3 separate regions of the Homo sapiens genome follow, and regions 2 and 3 are each linked to region 1. Evidence: promoter capture Hi-C in 16 types of primary human blood cells and fetal thymus (Javierre and others, 2016). All regions are on one chromosome and are shown on one strand. The core of a region is centred on a gene start or on the middle of the fragment in contact, and the rest is flanking DNA. Distances in the headings are between cores, read along the strand shown. Region 1 holds the start of NYX (nyctalopin). Region 2 overlaps CASK (calcium/calmodulin dependent serine protein kinase). Region 3 overlaps CASK (calcium/calmodulin dependent serine protein kinase).

The links. The method cuts DNA at HindIII sites, captures the fragments that hold promoters and counts their contacts. A CHiCAGO score of 5 or more calls a contact.
Region 2: a fragment that was not itself captured here is called in contact with the fragment with the promoter of NYX in region 1 in 1 of 17 cell types (neutrophils); the score reaches 7.1 in neutrophils.
Region 3: a fragment that was not itself captured here is called in contact with the fragment with the promoter of NYX in region 1 in 1 of 17 cell types (neutrophils); the score reaches 6.0 in neutrophils.

What each region holds. Positions count from the first base shown.
Region 1 is chrX:41,444,409-41,449,524 of GRCh38, forward strand. It overlaps NYX (nyctalopin), which reads left to right and starts at 2,935. Exons shown (of 3, transcript NM_001378477.3): 1 at 2,935-3,108; 2 at 3,441-3,518. The coding sequence starts at 3,497. RefSeq lists enhancers at 601-670, 821-890, 1,011-1,060. The HindIII fragment of the contact is 20,707 bases long and covers 1-5,116 here.
Region 2 is chrX:41,752,298-41,757,413 of GRCh38, forward strand. The region is part of intron 3 of CASK (calcium/calmodulin dependent serine protein kinase); the gene reads right to left. Among named protein-coding and RNA genes, the nearest start is that of GPR82, 31 kb to the left of the region's middle. The HindIII fragment of the contact is 7,541 bases long and covers 1-5,116 here.
Region 3 is chrX:41,709,427-41,714,542 of GRCh38, forward strand. All of the region lies in intron 5 of CASK (calcium/calmodulin dependent serine protein kinase), which reads right to left. Among named protein-coding and RNA genes, the nearest start is that of GPR82, 12 kb to the right of the region's middle. RefSeq lists enhancers at 2,085-2,585, 2,586-3,086. The HindIII fragment of the contact is 3,582 bases long and covers 1,079-4,660 here.

The DNA of each region.
Region 1 (5,116 bases), core at 1,685-4,184:
AGGCAGATGCCTGCAAGTGAGAAAGGAGGGCACTGGAAGGGGATTCATTTCTTAGAGGTGGTAGCGCTTATGCTAAGCATAGCAGGCAGATTGAGATTTCAGCAGGTGGAGAAGTGGGGAAAGAAAGGAGCAAAGCAAAGGCCCAGGAAGGGCTACCCAGGGTTGGGGTGTCTGTGAATTGTCACTACAGGGCAGAAAGGCTGGAGGGCAAATCTGTGTCCTCCAGATAGCAGGCAAAGCCTCCAGTAGTCGCCGGCTGTCTTAATTAATCGGTAATTCTTACCAATTCCAAGGTGGGGAAGCCTGGCCAAAACGGCGAAACCCCATCTCTGCTAAAAACACAAAAATTAGCCAGGCATGGTGGCCGGCGCCTGTAGTTCCAGCTACTTGGGAGGCTGAGGCAGGAGAATGGCTTGAATCCAGGAGGTGGAGGCTGGCAAAATCATGCATCTTGGGCCATCACTATTTCTCAAGGTCACTTACACACCCCTTCTCCCTCCTTCAGCTCCTTTTATGGGCTACCAACTGCATGATGAGTGAGAACTAGCATGGGTACAAAACCACCCCAGGAGGGCCAGGTACAGTGGCTCACGCCTGTAATACCAACATTTTGGGAGGCTGAGGCCAGTGGATCATTTGATGTCGGGAGTTCGAGACCAAACTGGCTAGCATGGTGAAACCTCATCTTTACTAAAAATACAAAAAAAATTAGCCGGGTGTGGTGGTACTCACCTGTAGTCCCAGCTACTCAGGAGGCTGAGGCAGGAGAATTGCTTGAACCCGGGAGGCAGAGGTTGCAGTGGGCTGAGATCACGCCACTGCACTCCAGCCTGAGGGACAGAGTAAGGCTCCATCTCAAAAACAAAAACGAAAAAATCCCTCCCCCAGCAGCCCACGAGTGGCTGGAGTAGGCTCTGAAAGGGCCGGCCTTTCTCCTGTCTTGAGCTTTAAGTTTCTCCCAGGGGAAGTCAGTCAATCGCATTTCCTGTAACAACCCTGGGCCACCTGCTTTTCTCCCTGCAGCAAGGTTTTGATTAAGGGCTGCTCATCCTCCCAAGTCGGTGGTACCAGCTCACCTGGTGGATGGGCTCCTTCCTTTTTATGCCAAGAGTCTCTGATGCCTCCTTATTTTCCACTTGGGAGAAATGTTTCAGTTCACAGGTGGAGAAGAAGGTCTTCCTTAGTGGGATCCCAGTGCCAGAGCACCAGGCCCACTGGCCTGGAGAAGATTGAAGGGAAGGTTGGACCAATAAGCTGCGAACAAAGGTTGTGGGTGCAGACAGGTTGGCTCTTACAGTCGAGATTCAGCCTCTGGACTGCTGCTGGGGGAGTGGGGGCTTCGTTGGGCTAAGGCTTGGGGTGATGGCTACAGGGACACCTCCGACACTGGTGGTCACAATGAGAGGGCTGCCCACTGCTCTCATCTAATAAGCCAGGCGAGTCCAACACTGGGGATAGAGATGTCATTTGAGAGGCCTCCCCCACCCACATCCCTACCCCATCCCTAGTATTCTCTTCTTTCCAGCAGGTTAGACAAGTTCAGCCACATTTTGGCTTTCAAGGCTCAAATGGAAGAAAACAAAAATTCCCCAGGGCACGGTGGCCTGAGATGTCTAGATTCACATCCAGAACCCTTTCTGTGGGAAGGGAACTCCTGGCTTCCTTTCATCAGCACTGGCTCACCAAGTCCTGCGTGGCCAGAACTTGGCAGGTTGCCATGGATACCTGGAAGTGCTGTCCCAGCAGACAGCAGAGGCTTGCTGGGGCCAGGAGAATGTGGGGGCACCTGAACTGCTGGCCAGAAAGGCTAGATAAACAGGCCCCCCTGCCACCCTCATTTTGATCAGACCCCCTCCACCAGTCTCCTAAAACAGGGCTTTCCAAACTTTACCGGGCACAGGAATCCCCCTCTCCGCCGACCTAGTTAAAATGCAGATGCTGGCCGGGCGCGGTGGTTCACGCCTGTAATCCCAGCACTCTGGGAGGCCGAGGCGGGTGGATCACAAGGTCAAGAGATCAAGACCATCCTGGTCAACATGGTGAAACCCCGTCTCTACTAAAAATACAAAAAATTAGCTGGGCATGGTGTAGTCCCAGCTACTCAGGAAGCTGAGGCAGGGGAATCGCTTGAACCCAGAAGGTGGAGGTTGCAGTGAGCCAAGATTGTGCCACTGCACTCCAGCCTGGGCGACAGAGTGAGACTCCATCTCAAAAAAAAAAAAAAAAAAAAAAAAGCAGATGCTGATTCAACAGGTCTGGGGCGGGGGGTAGAAGGCGCTGAGATTCTGTTTTCCTAACGAGCTCTCAGGTACTGCTGCTGGTCCACCGGCCACACTGAGTAGCCAGGGCCTAAACTGAGTCCTGGTGGGTTTCAGAAACCTCAGCCAGATTCTGAAGGTCCCATTCCTGGACCCACTGCCTTAGGCCACCACTACCAGCCCTAACCCCAGTGGGAACCTCTTGCCTTCTTGTAGTGGAAGGACTCTCTCCAGTCCGTTTTTGTATCATTCACCATCAACCACTTCAAAGAAAGGAAATCAGCAGCCGGCATTTTGGGGAAACATTTTAAGCTGTCCTGTCCCTTCTCCAGCTCTCCAAGTTATATAATGCGTCCTTGTTGAAAATGCTGATAATGCTGTTTGGGTGGCAGGAAGCCAATTTCAGGCTACATATTGCTTGGGGCTGGGGCTGGGGTCAGGGAACGGGGCAGGGTCTGGGGAAGGTTTAAGGAGAGAAAGGGGCCAGGCAGATGGAGAGAGGACAGGAGGGCCAGGGTGGTCAAGGCCCGGGGATAAAGCCGATTGGTATGTCAGCAAAATCTGTCACTGGCTTTAGTGATTCGAAAGGCAGACACATTCTTTCATCTCTGTTAATCCTCATGTGATACAGAGGATTTTCCTGCCATTAAATCTGGAGAAAGAAAAATAAGCACTCAAACCTGCACAAGTAACTATTCCTCTTCACCCCTTCCTCCCGTCCCCCCACCCCCACCTTTACTTCTCTCTCAAACCATTTTCAGCATCTGTGGCTGCCTGACTTGGGAGATGGATGGGCTGAGGGAGTGGAGGGGGACCTCAGAGGAGCAGGACCAGGGAGACTCCCAGGACGGTAAGCAACATTTGAGGACCATTCACTAACGCTTCTCTGCAGGGGTTTCCTCTCCATCCATTTCCTTGCTGGGTTGTCAGTGATGCCATCTGAGTTGCTGTCAGGGCTGTAGCCTGACAAAGGGTTTCCTAATAGATCCAAACTGTCCATTTGTGGGGAGCTTCTGATTTTCTGTTGTTACTGGTTTCCCTTAGCCCAACACCAGGGTCATTAAGAAGGAAGGAATGTGAGGAAGAAAGAAAGGCAGGGCATTCAGGAAGAAGTGTGGAGGCATGGGAGGGTTCTCATGGGGCCCTCCTGGGCACTGGGTGACCTGTCCTTTCTCCCCTCAGGTAGGGGTCCCACGGCTGGGTGGTCCTAAGCCACTGGGTGGATGAAAGGCCGAGGGATGTTGGTCCTGCTTCTGCATGGTGAGTTCTCCTGCCGGTGGGTGCAAGGGTTGGGAAGAGGGGTGGAAGCCACAGAGCTTCTGCCCAAAGAGTCTTTAAAGTGGCTTCTGGGACAGCGGTATCTGGACACTTCTGATCAGGTTTCACTGACCCTGTGATCGTGGGGGAGGGGATAGAGAAAGCAAGAAAACAGCAGGTGGTGGGGATTTTTGTTTCCTAAAAACAAAACTCCTGAGCCGAATATATGAAATAGTCCTCTTGGTGATTTTCTTATTCTAATTTCAGATATGAATTCATTGGTGTGATAACCAAAAGCTACAGTGCTACAGTGTTTTTTTGTTTTGTTTTGTTTTTGGAGATGGAGTCTCGCTCTGTCACCCAGGCTGGAGTACAGTGGTGCGACCTCGGCACACTGCAAGCTCCGCCTCCCGGGTTCACGCCATTCTCCTGCCTCAGCCTCCCGAGTAGCTGGGAGTACAGGTGCCCGCCACCACGCCTGGCTAATTTTTTGTATTTTTAGTAGAGACGGGGTTTCACCATGTTAGCCAGGATGGTCTCGATCTCCTGACCTCGTGATCTGCCCGCCTCGGCCTCCCAAAGTGCTGGGATTACAGGCGTGAGCCACCGTACGGTGGTTTTTTCTTTTCTTTTCTTTTCTTTTTTTTTTTTTTTGAGACAGAGTCTCACTCTCGCCCAAGCTGGGGAGCAGTGGCATGGATCTTGGCTCACTGCAACCTCCGCCTCCCGGGTTCAAGTGATTCTCGTGCCTCAGCCTCCTGAGTAGCTGGAACTATAGGCACCTGCCACCACGCCCAGCTAATTTTTTGTATTGTTAGTAAAGACGGGGTTTCGCCATATTGCCCAGGCTGGTCTTGAACTCCTGACCTCAGGTGATCTGCCTGTCTCGGCCTCCCAAAGTGCTGGGATTGCAGGCATGAACCACCGTGCCCAGCCTACAGTGGTTTCTAATCACATTATTTTAAGCTCATTTAGTTAAAAACAAAAGTCCCTTTAAAAAACCACCTTCCTAAAGGAAAAAGAAAAAATGAAAAATGCCTTGGAATTATAGGATTATGGATATTGAAGTTATTTTTCAAAGTTTCTCGCTCTGTTATGTGCACTTTAATATACCAAGAAGACTCGTTATGAAATATTTTCCCTGGCTCTAGCTGTTCCAATCTGACTGAGATAGCCCAAGGAAAAATCCTTTAAATTCTTCAGTAAATGATTCTACACAAAGAATCTGTTTTTTTCTGACCCTCAAGTGAATTTAATTATTTGAGATATGATGATCTATGTAATAGACCTCTGTATGCGATGCTGATAGAGAACATTTTACCAGATCATCTAAAACAGGAGTAATGGAGTTTTCTTCCTCTTTATTCCACCTTTTCAAAAACCGGAACTTGCTCTGTTCAGTCAACCAACAGGCATACACTGTGTGCCTTCAAAACGCTCGAGAGATATTTATGAGGGATATAATAGCATGCTCTTTGTCTTTGAGAAAATTCTTTTATAAGAGATTCAATAAATAAGCAATAAAAAAAATTGGAGCAAGGCACGTGGAACACTGTGATAAATAGGACATGACTTCCTACCTCGAAGAGGTTCTAAAGAAC
Region 2 (5,116 bases), core at 1,637-4,136, 310 kb after region 1:
TTTTTTTTTCCAAGACAGGGTCTTGCTCTGTTGCCCAGGCTGGAGTGCAATGGCATGATCTTGGCTCACTGCAGCATCCACCTCCCAGGGTCAAGTTATTCTTCTGCGTCAGCCTCCCGAGTAGCTGGGATTACAGGCGCACACCTCACGTCCAGCTAATTTCTGTATTTTTAGTAGAGATAGGGTTTTTCTGTGTTGGCCAGACTGGTCTTGAGTTCCTGGCCTCAAGTGATCCCCTCTGCCTCGGCCTCCCAAAATGCTGGGATTACAGGCATGAGCCACCATGCCCAGCAGAACATATTCCTAACAATGATAATGAAAAGAGTACTATCAAAACTTGTACAGGATTGGTACGTTACATTTCAAGATCAGGGTTTTGCCATTAATAGACCCACAAATATAGAAAAATGGCTGAAAGGAGGAGGGGCATAGGTCCAATCTTACAGGTTAAGAAGCTGGTGATCCATGTTACATACACAACTTGGCACTGGAGAAACCTTGCTTAAAGTAGGTAATCTACTATTGATAGAACAATACACCAATACAACTTTCTGAAGGGCAATTTTATAATGTGTGACAAAAACCTTAAACATGTATATGTCCTTCGGCTCAATTATTTCCTTCCAAGGGAAATAATTAGGAATACTGGTCAAGTTTTAATGACAAGGGTTTATCACAGCTATTTATAATAGGGAGAAATTAGAAGCAACCTAAATTCCCAACAGAATGGTTACATAAATTGTGGTAACTAGAGTAGAATATTATATTGCCATTAAATGATGTTATAGACATATATTTATTGACATAGATGTTCATAATACATTAACATGTATAAACATATATATGCATATTTATGTATAAGTAGATGCAGTGTGAAGCCTTTGCTATTAAAATGGGGTGTTAAAGACTGGGTAGAATTCTATTTGAAATTTTTTGTTTTCTTCTTTTTACCTTTACTTTTAAAAAAATGAATAGGCACTATACTTTTGTCATAGGAAATCAGTTCTGTTAAAAAAAAAAAGCAGAATGCAGATGAAATGGTACTTACAAAGTAGTTTGTATCCATAAACTTGTTTTAAAACTTTAATTAGAAATTTAATAGAAATATTGTGAATGCTGACTTAAAATATTAGAAAATATGAAAAGTTACCAAGTCAGTGACATCTCATCATGAGACATGTTTTAAAAAACAGCAAATTAAACCCAATGAAGGTAGAAGGAAATAATAAGCAGAAATTAATGAAGTAAAGAGACAAAATAGAGAAAAAGCAAAGCAACAAATAGATTCTCTGAAATGATTAATAAAGGCCAGGTGCAATGGCTCATGCCTATAATCCCAGCACTTTGGGAGGCCAAGGTGAGAGGATCATTTGAGGCCAGGAGTTCGATATCAGCCTGGGCAACACAGTGAGACTCCTTCTCTACTAAAAATTTAAAAATTAGCTGGGCATGGCAGCACATGCCTGTAGTCCCAGATACTCCAGAGGCAGAGGTGGAAGGCTTGATTGAATCCAGGAGTTTGAGGCTGCAGTGAGCTATAATGGCACCACTGCACTCCAACCTGGGCTATGGAGCAAGACCTCATCTCTAAAAAAGTAAATAAATAAATTTTAAAGCAATTAATAAATCTAGAAAATTCCTAACATTTGGAAACTAGACAATATACTTTTATTACATGTATCTCAGAATAAATCATTAGAAAATATTTTAAACTGAATAATAATAACAGTAAACACATCAAAACTTGTAAAATGTAGGTAAAGCAGTACTTAGAGGGAAATTTACTGCTATAAATGTACATATTAGAAAAGAAAGGCTGGCCAAGTGCAGTGCCTCACACCTGTAATCCCAGCACTCTGGGAGGCTGAGGTGGGAGGATCACTTGAGCCCAGGAGTTCGAGACCAGCCTGGGCAATATAGTGAGACCCCCATCTCTTCAAATAATAATAATAAAAATATTAGCTGGGCATGGAGGGGCCTGTTGTCTCAGCTACTCAGGAGGCTGAGACGGCCAAATTGCTTGAGCCTGGAAGGTCAAGGCTGCAGTGAGCCATGACTGCACCACTACACTCCAGCCTGGACAACACAGTGAGACCCTGACTCAAAAAAAGAGAAGGGCTAAACATTTAAGAACTAAACATCTACCTGTATAAGTTACATAAAGATCATCAAATTAAATTCAAAGAAATTAGATGAAAGGAAATAGAAGCAGAAATTAATGAAATGGAAGACAAACATATTCAAGAAATTAACAAAGCTAAAAGTTGTTCCCTGTGAAATGATGAATCTCTGGCAAGACTGATAACAAAAAGAAAAGAGAAAAGACACATATAGCACCCAGTATTAACAATGAAGGAGATATCATTTCATATGCTGCAGAAATAAAAGATGATACTGAAACTTTATGTCACAAATTTAAAAATGTATATGAAACCGACAAATTCTCAGAAAAATAAAACTCACCAAAATTAACAAAAAGAATTAGAAAACTTGAATAATCCTTTACTGATTCAAGAAACTGAATCAGTAATTTAATCTTCTGAGACAGAAAACTCTAGGCCTAGATGCCATTTCTGACAAGTTTTTTTTTTTTTTTTTTTGAGATGGAGTCTCGCTCTGTCACCAGGCAGGAGTGCAGTGGTGCCATCTCGGCTCACTGCAACCTCCACCTCCCGCGTTCAAGAGATTCTCCTGCCTCAGCCTCCTGAATAGCTGGGACTACAGGAGTGCACCACCACACCCAGCTAATTTTTGTATTTTTAGTAGAGATGGGGTTTCACCATGTTGGCCAGGATGGTCTTGATTTCTTGACCTCGTGATCTGCCTGCCTCGGCCTCCCAAAGTGCTGGGATTACAGGTGTTAGCCACTGCACCCAGCCCATTTCTGACAAGTTCTATTGAACATTCTAAGGAGAAATAAAAGAATAAAAAGCAGGAATAGTTTCCAACTCACTTTATGAAAATAGTTTAATCCATATACTAAAACCTACTGTGGACAGTATGAGACAATTAAAAGACAACCTCACTAAAGAACATAGATGCAAGTAACCTAAACAAAAGTTTAACAACCCCAAACAGGCAATATATAAGAATTACACCAGGTCCAAATTGAGTTTACCCGAGGAATGCAAAACTTTTAACATTTGGAATTAATATAATTGTGTACACTGATAGATTAAAGATGAAAGATTATGTGGTCAGGTCAATAAATGTCAAAACACTTAAAACTATGTATTTGTGATTAAAAAACTTAAAAAACTCTTAGATCAGGAACAAGCCAAGAAAGTCCACTCTAACAATTTAAACTCAATATTATTCTGGAGGTCCTAGCCAGGGCAGTAAGGCAAGATAAAGAAATAAAATGTATGAGAATAGAAAAGGAAGAAACAGTCACTAATTACAGATGGTATATATAGAATATCCAAAATAATCTAAGTTAAAATTAGAACTAAGCAGAGTTCAGCAAAATCATTGTAAGTTATATGAAATTTTAAAAGAGTGTTTCTTTAAGAATGTAGAAATAAATCTAAAAGAAAGGTATATAAGATCTCTGTGGAGAAAAGTATGATTTTTTTAAGAGAAATTAAACAAATGAAATAAATGGAGAGAAAATTATCCTGTTCACTGACAAGAAGACTCAATATTGTAAACAGCCGATGTCTTCCAAGTTGAAGCATAGATTCAACAGAATTTGAATGAAAATCCCAACAGGTTTTGTGGAAACTCTAAAGCAGAATCTAAAATGTATATGGAATTGCAGAAGGCCAAGAAGACTCAAGATATTCTGGAAGAATAACACCTCTTGGAGTTTTTGCTGTACTTGATTTCAAAATTTAGCCCCCACCTCCATGTCCACAGGTACTATGTATGGAATGTCCTACAAAGCTCAGTAATTAAGTGTATGATATTGACACTAGGACAGACAACAGCACAGTAGAACATAACAGAGAGCCTAGAAACATAACCATACATACATAGAGGCTTGATTTATGACAAAGGAGGATACTGGGCAAACACAGTCTCTTCAAAGAAATGTGTGCTTATGTGGACCAGGATATGTGTACCTGAATGTTTATAGCAGCATTGTTCACAATGGTCACAAACTGTGAACAACCCAATGTCCATCAATAGTAGAATAGATAAAATGGGTATAGAATACTATATAGCAATGAAAGGAAATTAATTACAGCTACACAAAGGAATATGGCTGAATCCTGAAGACAAAATACTGAGTGAAGCAGATGTAGCCAAACCTAAACTGCTTGGTTTATTTTATATACAGTTCAAAGACAGAAGTAACCTTATTTTGCTGTAATAAATAATTAAAGCTAGCATTTATTGAGTGCTTACTACGTGAAAGGTATTTTCTAAGTCCCTTATATGCATTAACTCATTCAATGTTTACACGAGAAGTCTACGACATAGGTATTATGACTACCTCCCCTATTTTACTTACGAGAAAACTGAGAAACAGCAAAAGTTAAGTAACTTGACCAAGAGATCACACAGCTTGTAAGGGGTAGAGCCTGGATTCTAACTCAGGCAAGCTGACTTACAGTCCATGCATTATCCTCCACAAAATGCTCAGGTTACAAAGAGGGAAACTTCCTCACTTCTGCTCCAGGCTTTCAGTTACTTAATGGAAGACAAGAGATTACAACTAAGTAGGTAAAATCATAATGTAAAGAAAGGCTCCATATGTGAAATCCATTTTCATGCCTATTATGGGGGCCCCATGTTCCAGAACCATATAGGGGGATTTTTAAAATACAGAGCCTATGTCCCCATCTTTCCAGATGATACATATGAATACTATATTATTGATATAATTTAAATGAATTGTCTATATTTAGTAAGTTTGTTGATAAATGCTGTAATCCTTGCATACACAAATCAGTCTTTTTTAAAAAAATCTTTAATTCTGTTTTTTTTCTAATTCAGGGCTTTGTTTGTGGTACTGTTTTGATGTCTTCACAAATGTCCCATAACTACCATCTTTTCCCAACACTTTTGCATTCTTTATGCTCCTGCCTGGGATGTCCTTTCTTCACCTTTCCACCCATCTGACTCCTACACTGGTGCTGATGCCCTTTATCAACTTCCTATAAGCCTGTCT
Region 3 (5,116 bases), core at 1,620-4,119, 260 kb after region 1:
GTCTCCTTATTTAAAGCAATAAACTAGATTCTATTGAGTATTATCATATATTATGAGAGTCCATATAAAACAGTAAAGAATGTGGGCTCTAAAGTCAGACTATCTGGGTTCAAATCTAGACCTTATAATAGAGCAGTTTTATCACTGTAGGCAAGTTATCCTCTGTGGACCCACATCCATCATCTAGAAAGTGACAGTAATAATAGAATCTATCTCAGAGATATTTCTAAAATTATATGAATATATATATAAAAGCAGATCAGTGGCTGTCACTTATTATTATTAATTTTCTAAATGTGGTTCTCAGAGAAACCTGTGACTTTCATGCTTGGGGCGCTTAAGAGAAAATGAATACAGACACTAATGGGTATAGGAGGGAAGACATGAGATATTCAATTCTTCTTTCTCTTCCCTTGACATCTATCTCTTTTTTTCCCCTTGATTAAGGACAGGAAGTTACATGGAGCAGGGGACTTCACCTTAAGACAATTGTATCTAGAAATTCAAAAGAAGTGATTGGTAATAAAATGGCCAGGAAACCTTGGCCCTAGAAAGAGACAGTGAAGTGGAGAATTCTGGGCACTGATATATGATGCCTTTTAAATTCGCTAAATCTCACTGCAATCCAAGTCACTGTTTCCCAGGGTATAGATTTTGTGTGTGTGTGTGTGTGTGTGTGTGTGTGTGTGTGTGTGTGTGTGTGTGTTTTGTACCTGGGGTGATACAATGGAACAGCATTATTTTTGGAATTCTATCCTCAACTGCTTTATTCATAGAAATCTTTATCTACTTTTGGCTTTTTAAAGAATCTACAGAAAAGAATGGTTAGTTCTGAAGCATAATATGAACCAAGTTTGACTGATTTGAAGATGTCAAAATTCAAAATTTGTCCCTCAAATATATTTTTGCCTCACGTAATTCAATGCTAAAGTTTCTCCCCTATTCTAAACCTGCTAATTTCCTGTCTGCTTTTCAACTACCACCCCTGAAATGATTCCAGTTCTTATGACTGCCACTGAAGTCGCTAGAGTTTCTATGCTGTGCATTCCTAAAAGACAATGTTTAGCCAGCACACTCAAGCTTATATGAAAAGCCAAAAGCCAAAGCTGAAGGATAGTGAAACTTTGATGATCAGGTCTGTGATACTATAAAATATATATTTGGTCTTCAACCCTCTTTCCAGGCATACAACTGCTAAAATCCTTAGAAACTCCAGAATGATGTCTTTTTGTATGCTAATGGTTGACTGATGGCTGGAACCCTTAGGTAGTTTCAGGATGAGGCTGGTAGCCTTGAAAGACTAGGCAGGATTAGAGGGTTGGGACATTAAGCCCCATCCCCAACCTCCAAGGAGGGGAGAGGGGCTGAAGGTTAAATTAATCTCCAATGGCCAATCGTTTAACCAATCATGCCTACATAATGAAGCCTCCATAAAACCGCAAAAGGACAGTGTTCGGAGAGTTTCTGGATAGCTGAACTTGTGGAGTTTCCCAGATGGTGGTGCCTCTGTCCAGAGAGGACAGGAAAGCTCCGTGCCCCAGGATTATGCATCTTTTCATCTGTATCCTTTATAATAAACGGGTATATGTAACTGGTTCCCTGAGTTCTGTGAGGCGCTCTAGCAAATTAATTGGGCCCAAAGAGGGAGCCGTGGGATCCCTGATTTATAGCTAGTCAGTCAGAAGCATAGGTGACACAGCCTGGGGCTAGCCATTGGCATCTAAAGGTGGGGGCCAGTCTTGGGGACTAAGCCCTCAACCTGTGGAATCTGATGCTATCTCTAGGTACATAGTGTCAGAACATAACTGAATTAGAGGACACCTAGCTGGTGTCAACTGCAGAATTGCTTGCTTGCTTGTTGGTTGGGGAGAAATCCCCACACATTTGGTCACAGAAATCATCTGTGTTAATTGTTGTTGAAAGAGTAGAAAAGTACTTTGTGAGTTTTGTTTTCCTTCCAAACTATGAATTGGTTTCAGTGAGGTAGGGTTTGCTAGAATGGACTTGGCTCACAGAAACATGTGGTTTGGGAAGAGAAAGAATGAAAGTGACAGCAGCAGGAGGCAGACAAAATGCCTAGACAGATAGGGGCGAGTCCTCAGTGAAATTGACCTTCAAGCTGAAGACAGTTTAAAGCCTACCTACATGTCCCGGGTAAATCCATGGACTGGATTGAGAACCTGTCTTCCTGTTTGGTGTGCTTTCCTCTGATTGATCCCCGCCCCTCACCTATTTTACATATACCTACCCTTCCCTAATTGGTTTTCTACACTGTTGTGCCCACCTTTGAGTGGTGTCTTCGCTTTAACCTTTTCTGCATACTCACAAACCAATCAGCACACATGCCCCATTCTGAATCCATAAAATACCATGGACCCAGCCACACTGAGAGAGACAAACCACCCGACTGCAGGGGTGGGGGGGCCACCCGTGTCCCCTCTCTGCTGAAAGCTGTTCTGCTGCTCAATAAAATTCTTCCCTACCCATCCTCACCCTTCAAATTGTCAGCGTATCCTCATTCTTCGTGGATAAGGACAGGAGCTTGGGAACTGCTGAACGCAGGTACAAGCCATAGCACAGGTGGGGTGAGTGGGCCTGACGCCTCAGCAGGCCCATGGCCAAGCAAAGGCCAGGTAGGGGGGCGTTGCTGGCCATGGAGGTCCCTGATTGGCAAAGTGGCCAAGAAAAATCCTGCGTCAAAAAGGTGGGAGATGAGGAATCTTTGATTCCTGGGTGGCCATGTGGTTTCCCACTGTTTTGAGCTGCAGCTGTGCTGCAATCAGCTACTAAAGGTAAAAGTTACTGGTGGAATTCAGAGATGGATGCAACTCCCGGGGAGTTGGTTCACTGGTTGCATGAGGGTATGCAGACTAATATGAAAAAGTGAAATACTAAATTCTTTGGTGTTTATCTCTAATAGCTAAATGAAATTAAAGGAGAATGCTAGGTTAGACTTTGTCTGTCTGAGCCCAGGCCACTAGCCTCAAAGCTGACCCCCAAGGAAAAATTATGCAAGGACACTGAAGTACCTTTACGATTGAAACTGCCTTTGCAAAACTGTAACTAAGGAAATTATGACAGTGAAAAATATCAGACCTAACCAACTCCATCTTGCTTCTAACCTCTAAACTGTCCTTGTCCATTACTGGGCATAGGCCAAACTAGCCTTGGGAAGGAATTTAATTTATAGTTTAAATAATAGCCCTTCCCAAAAGCTAAACTGTTCTTGTAAAACGAATGAAAGGCCACCAGCCACCAAGTACGGATGAGAGGGGCTGGAATTCTAAATGTTACCAGCCATTATTCTGGAGGTCATAAGATTTGCAACTTACATCACTATCGTGAACCTAAGATTGGCCTTTTGAGATATCTTTTCAGGTATTTGCATTTCTAACAACTGGATGGCCCCACCTGGACCTGCCAACCAGTTCTGTGGCCCCCTACCCAGGAACTGAATCAGCATGAGAGGACAGCTTTGACTCCCTATGATTTCATTCCAGAGCCAACCAATCAGCACTCCTGATTCACAGCCCACTACCCACCAAATTATCCTTAAAATCTCTGATCCCCGAGTCTTCTGGGAGACTGATGTGAGTAATAATAAAACTCCGCTCTCCTGCACGGCTGGTTCTGCGTGAATTACTTTTTTTCTATTGCAATTTCCCTGTATTGATAAATCAGCTCTGTCTAGACAGCGGGCAAGATGAACCCACTGGACAGTTACACAACCTGTGGTTATCAAGAAGGGTAGTCAATGTGGGGAAAGGGTAAAACTGATAAACTATTGAAACTGGAGGGTATACTGTGAAGGAACTGTCAGAGCAGTTTCTTTGGTTTTAAATGCTCAAGAGTGGAAGAGCATGTTTGGTTGAGGTAGGACCTGCAGTTCATTATTGAACAATCACAGATGGAAAGGTAGATTTCCAGACACACAGGAGGTTATTTCCAAGGGAATGGCCAGCGTGGTGGACTGGACCTGTTTACCCTGAGAAGGGGACTGTCCAATTTCACCTATAAATGCCAAGTGGTGTACCCTGAAGCAGCAGCTCATTTGCTTCCTATGTAGACCATGTGGGACTGGCTTTATGATGACTGAGATATTCACTCACTGAATACATCCATTACTCTGGCTGTAGTAAATGCTATGGCTAAGGGAGCCTCTTTTGTATGGGCACCAATGAAAACATGAGCGTAATTAACAAGAGACTGGGGAAAGGCAGAGGGGAGAGTCACAGGACTCATCCCAGGAAGGTGGAAAGTCTAAATGGTTATTGAGAAATAAGGTGAATGAAGAAAACATTGATGGGGTGAAACTAAGAGGAAAAAGAAAGGAGAGTCATGGGACTCATCTAAGCAGGGTAGAGTCTTTAGAGGGCTATTAAAAAATGGGATGAATAAAGTGGAAATCGATGGGGTTAAAACAAAGGTCATCACTATAGAAGGTTGGTAGGGAGATTCTGCTGTTCTCCTAACGGTAAGAGGATCCAAACAGGTTTGGTGTATTTATCCCAGTTAGGAGAAATTGAAAAAATGAGAGGAAGAGATTACAATGAGAAAGCTGACCAACAATTACTTGGAGCAGTGTTGAGGCAGGTTAATCAAGACAAAGATTGACAAAAGGGCTAAGGTCCCTTGGCTCAACCCTCTGCTGGGGATTCAAAGCTTTTTTCTAAGGAGAAAATGGTAAAATGGTCTGGGAGTGAAGAAGAGAAATTCTGGGACTGGGACAGAAAGTAAGGGTTGGTAGGAATACGAGATTTAGAATGTTTATAAACAGGCTTTATGTAAAGAAGTTATGTCTCCTTTACCTGAATGTTTGATGGAACTGGATATTATGTCTGGGTGGGGAACACTTCCCCTACCTAGTACTGTAAACTCAAAACCTGTTGGTAAAGTCGTAATAGAGGCTACAGTTAGGAAAGTAAGCATTGAGAAAATTAAGGTAAGTTGGTACATTTGAACACACTTTACATGAAGTGGTTGTATCTCTTTCACTTGACTGTATTATGGGGATATTGTGTCTGACTGGGGAATGTTTCTCTTACCTTGTATTGTAAAACACCCTTGTAGCAATATTAATTGAACATGCTAAATGGCAAACCAGTAAGATTACCCA